Linked DNA regions of Homo sapiens: region 1 is linked to region 2. The links are contacts of gene promoters, found by promoter capture Hi-C in blood cells and fetal thymus (Javierre and others, 2016). All regions are on one chromosome and are shown on one strand. The core of a region is centred on a gene start or on the middle of the fragment in contact, and the rest is flanking DNA. Distances in the headings are between cores, read along the strand shown.

Evidence for each region. The method cuts DNA at HindIII sites, captures the fragments that hold promoters and counts their contacts. A CHiCAGO score of 5 or more calls a contact.
Region 1: a contact is called between a fragment that was not itself captured here and the fragment with the promoter of MED30 in region 2, in 1 of 17 cell types (naive CD4 T cells). The highest score is 5.1, in naive CD4 T cells.

The regions. Positions count from the first base shown.
Region 1 is chr8:119,634,545-119,637,244 of GRCh38, forward strand. All of the region lies in intron 2 of ENPP2 (ectonucleotide pyrophosphatase/phosphodiesterase 2), which reads right to left. Among named protein-coding and RNA genes, the nearest start is that of ENPP2, 2.9 kb to the right of the region's middle. The HindIII fragment of the contact is 1,251 bases long and covers 662-1,912 here.
Region 2 is chr8:117,519,444-117,522,143 of GRCh38, forward strand. It overlaps MED30 (mediator complex subunit 30), which reads left to right and starts at 1,270. Exons shown (of 4, transcript NM_080651.4): 1 at 1,270-1,610. The coding sequence starts at 1,434. It overlaps LOC105375716 (a long non-coding RNA gene), which reads right to left and starts at 1,277. Exons shown (of 7, transcript XR_928569.3): 1 at 1,111-1,277. The HindIII fragment of the contact is 1,953 bases long and covers 912-2,700 here.

The DNA of each region.
Region 1 (2,700 bases), core at 37-2,536, 2.1 Mb after region 2:
TTCAAAAACTTTTTCAGATAAATAAAAGCGACTTTATCCCCATTTTCCTGGTTGGAAAATTAGATCTCTAGGCCTTGTATGAGTTAGCCAAGGCCTGGATAAAATTTTAGATCATCTCACTGTAACTACAGTATTTTTTTCATTAATGAAAGGTTTTTCAAACTTTTGTACATAGTTTTCAAATTTTAGAAGTTCTTTTCAAAATATAATTTTGGGGAAGATTTGCTGATTTTATTGATTCAAAAATCTAGGCTGAAGTTCATGGAAGACTGAGATTTCTGAGTATGTAAACTAGATAGAGGAGTCTCTACAGTTTTCAGATAGATGAAAAATCACTACACTACAGCCCCATTTAACAAAGAACTGAAAAATCTGTACCCTCCTTAGCTTCCAGTTCAGATAATTTCATTCCATTGACTCAAACTCCCCAATTTCTACCTGAAATTTCACATAAAGCCCCATGACAGGATAATCCTAATGACCGAGTTTTGCTCACAGAGCAAATGGCTGATCTACGTCCCCTTTACAGTTTCCTGCATTCTCCCATGCCAACATTTAAATAGCTTTTCATTGCAGAGCAAAATTTCTAAAATTATCAAATGAACATAAACCTTCTCACTTCTAGTTCCATTTTCTGATTTCCCTATGATTCTCAAAGAAAAGCTTTATCCATAAAGTTGTTAGTGACAGTCTACATTTCATATGAACCTATGAATTTCATTCACATACTTTTCAACTTTCCTTTCAAGCCACTAAAAACAATGATGAATTAAACTGAGCTTTTAAGTCTCTGTTAGCCAGCTATTCACAAGCTCACAAATTTCCTTTTGTCTTTTAAGAATTAAATTACTTACATATCAAAGAGGATATTCTATTTCCACCTGGAGACAGTTTCTAAATCACAAGTTTCAATAAAATAGACTCCTGCATAACACCACAAACATACACACTGCAAGTGCACATGAGTGCACAGACACCTGTAGACATATAAAGTCTCTTGCAGTCTTAAAGGCAAATCAAGTGGGCCACATCAGACATATGAGAAAAAGATGTCAAACTAAATCACAGTTATGGCTTATATTTTCTTAGAAAATTTATTCCACCCATCTCACCGTCTCATTAACCTGAATGCCCATTGTATTTACCCAACAGAATTATAAGTAGCTTTTCTCATTTCATATCTCCTAATAAATCTATAAATCTTTTATGACCTGGTATAAAAAATCCTGTTCAGCCATTATTTCCTACGCTAACAATAAATCCAGGTAACAAGTGTGTTAGTTAATTAATTATGACAGTCTGTTTGCACTGCCACAACCTTGAAACTAACACCCCAGTCCATAGTACAGCAGCGAGGGCATCCATGTGTACAGAACATTCTCAGCTATTGTTGAGGACTCTGAGAAGCTATGGTTACTAAACAACTGCATGCTTTTGAATGGTGGATCTCACTCTGATCAATCCGAAGCTAGCCATATATCAATACCCTTTGTGTTCCTTCTATTTGTTGCACCCTTGGAGCACTGAGCTTCCCAGGATTTCTTTGGCGCCTAAAAATGTTGTTGGAAATAGGCATGGCTGCCTCCTCCCCACCTAGTGTCTTATTCTTACAGGCTTATAAAATTCACCCAGTATTTTCTGATGGGAAGGCTTTTCTAATGGTCAGAATAACCAGTCACATGTGTCAATCGAGAGAGATCCTTTCTAAGCATATGCAGCATTTAAACGCATAAAGATATTTCCACTGTCTACAGGATGCTTTTACCTAGTTTACTAAGTACATCCTTGATTTTTATTCAGGAGAAATCAACCACAGTTCCTAAAAAGCACATAAGCTACATCAAAAGAAAAATTATTCAGGCATATCCAAACCATAAAATTCAGAGTTAGGTTGCATTGTATTCTAAGACTAAGCTTCACGTGGTTAGAAGTTTAATAAATTATTTTAGATGATATCATAAAGGCCTAAAATAACCAACGACTTAATTAAATAATTCAAGGAGCAAATTCGTGTAGCCCACTTAAGACCATTTAGGTTTATAAATTATAATATAGACCATACTACTTTTCTAGAAGTGGCATTTATTCATTAGTTCATATAGCTATTCTTATAACATGGAAATAATTTACTATACACAAAATATTTTCAAAGACTAATAAATCCAATCTATACTTTTCAAGTTTTCCAGTAGTGAGCACAGAAATTCAAGAGGCAATGAAACAGAATAATTCCTGGGATTTTTTTTTTTTAATCCAGAAAGAAAAGTAGAAATCATCTAAGTCTGCTCCTCATTGTACAGCTAAGGAAACAGACTTCACAAGTGACTTGCCCAACACCACACAGCAAGTTACAGGACTCCAGGGTACCAGCCTAGGATTTTAATGACTGTTTTCCAAAAGAAGTCACCTTTAAAAATAATGAGTGACTCAATTTTACATTCATTAAGGAAACAGCATTTAATTCTTTCAATCTCAGTTTTAGCCAGAGTAATATATTAAGAGGAAACAGAAAAAAAAAGTTCCCTTTAGTGTTCATTGAAAAGAACCAGCAGTTGGCTCTCAAGTTGCTAGCTTTCCCACATGACCATGCTAAGGATCTGATTCCCCTGTCTGTTCAGTCACAGTCAGTGTTAATGGGAGTGAAAAAGAGGCCTTTGAAGAGAGCATTTGCTGCAAATAAAAACAGCATTCTCTAGCTCA
Region 2 (2,700 bases), core at 20-2,519:
TTCACTCCTAGCACCCAGCACATAATAGGTGCTCAGCCAATATTTGTCGAATGGTAATTACCGAAGACCTGCGAATTACTATGTTTAAAATCTCTACCAGGGTTCCTATGACATATTTAGTAACTATTTCCTGGAAAGTCCGTACAATGGAGCATTCAGATACTTCTAAAAAATGCAATGTTTGTGCCTATCACTAATTTTACATTCTTCACTTTTCCCCACTTTGGAGATGAACAGTAAGTGAGAGACATTGTGAGAGACATTTTAATTTCTCTTGCATTTATCATGTCACTCAACAATCATTCAATAAGTATTTATTGATACTTGTGCCAATCACTAGGTGTTGAGAATAAGTGAATAAAATAGTCTGTTTTCATGGAGTTGGCAGTGTGTGTAGATAGGGTGAGATAAAGTCTGAAAGTAAACAAACTGAAAGCTATATAAAATATCAGACAGTAGGCCGGGCGCGGTGGCTTATGCCTGTAATCCCAGCACTTTGGGAGGCCGAGGCGGGCGGATCACGAGGTCAGGAGATCGAGACCATCCCGGCTAACACGGTGAAACCCCGTCTCTACTAAAAATACAAAAAATTTGTCGGGCGTGGTGGCGGGCGCCTGTAGTCCCAGCTACTCGGGAGGCCGAGGCTGGAGAATGGTGTGAACCCGGGAGGCGGAGCTTGCAGTGAGCCGAGGTCGCGCCACTGCACTCCAGCCTGGGTGACAGAGCGAGACTCCATCTCAAAAAGAAAAAGAAAAAAAAATCAGACACTAATAAGAGCCAGAGTCAGAAAGAAGTGTGTGTGTTGATCATTTTTTTTGCTTACAGATACTGGGAAAACTCAAAGAATAAAACATCTGAGCAGGGACCAAGAGCAATCGGGGAGTCCGTATCATGTCACAGAGAAGCGTACAAGCTTAGGAATCTTGTTTTCTGAATTCGAATCGCAGGTTGCCAGTTACACCTGTATGCGACTCAACAAGTACTTTAACCTGTCTCTTAGCTGTTATACTACAAACCTCAGGCTTGTTAAGAGAAAATGCTCCGCAAGGAACTAAACACAGAAGGTTCTAACGCTGAGCCAAGACTGGGAAACGAACTCTGGGAACTCACCCCAGGCTCCCCAAGAACATCGCCCCTCTGGCTGGAGCGCAATTGGTGATTGGCTACTTAACCCGTCCGTCCTTTCCCGCCCAGGGGTCCAATCCAATCCAGCCCGGCTCCGCTCGGAGACAGTTCGCCGAGTGGGCGGTGTCTATGACGTTTTCTGACGTGTTACGTCACAGTGGGCGGAAGTCGCGGCCGCTGTTTTGAAATCGGGCCGCGGGGGGTCTCTCAAGCTGGTTCCAACGCTGAGGCCCCACAGCCTCCCAATTCCGGGCAGACCCCTGACACCTGCTGTCTGGCCCCTTCCGGCCTGAAGCTGCAGCCGCGCCATGTCCACCCCTCCGTTGGCCGCGTCGGGGATGGCGCCCGGGCCCTTCGCCGGGCCCCAGGCTCAGCAGGCCGCCCGGGAAGTCAACACGGCGTCGCTGTGCCGCATCGGGCAGGAGACAGTGCAGGACATCGTGTACCGCACCATGGAGATCTTCCAGCTCCTGAGGAACATGCAGGTAGGAAGGCGGGCGCGCGAGGCCAGGGGGATGCAGCTGGGAGGGAAAGGGCCTCTGGTTTCCTCTTTACGTGGGGCCCGTGGATGTCATCGGGGCTGCCCTGGGCAAACCTTAGGTGTAGGGTCTCCCCCATTCACACTCAAGAGTGTCCCCAAAAGTCGGATTTGTAGAGGTGATGTTTTCCAGACCAGATTTCTGCAGAATTGAAGCCAATTTTTTTTAGATTCAATCGAGCTCTTTAGTTACTCTGTAAACTCTTGCACCTTTCAAGGCAGAGATGGGTCGCACTCCACTTCCCTCTTTAGGTTGCTTTAAATGTTTTTTCCAGCATTTCTTCTGGGGAGGTCCAAGGAGTTGAAGAATTTACATTTTTTTTAAAAAAACAGTCCTCCTTTTTTTGGCATAGTTAATATACAGTAAACTACACTCACCTAAAGTTTTGATATATATGTGTACTGTAGTCTGTATACTTGTGAAATTATCACCACAATCAAAATAGTGTACACATCATCCCAGAAAGTTTCTTCATACCCCTCTGACATCTTTGCTTCCCACCTTCCATCGCTAAGCAACCATTGATCTGCGTTCTGTAATCATAAATTAATTTGCATTTGCTAGGGTTTTATATAAACGGAGTCTACAGTATGTGGGCTTTTTTTTTTGTCTGAGATCCTTCACTAAGAATGCATCAATAATTTCCTTTTTATTGCTGAGTAATGTTCCATTGTATCCATGTATCACCATTTGCCTACCTTTTCTTCTGTTGATGGACATTTGGGTTGTTTCCACTTTTTGGCTGTTGTAAATAATGCTGCTATGAACTTTTGCTGACAAATTTTTGTGTGAACGTATGTGTCATTTCTCTTGGACAGATTCAGGAGTGGAATTGCTGGATCATGCAGTACATGTCTGTTTAATACTTTAAGAAACTTTTCCAAAGTGGCCTGAGCCATTTTACGTCCCGATTATTGCTAGTGGGAATGTAAACATTGCTGTTTGAGGGTTCTAGTTTCTCCTCATCCTCATCAACACCTGTTATGTCTTGATGCTTTCCAAATACTTCTCCCAGTCTATCCTGCCTTTTTATTCT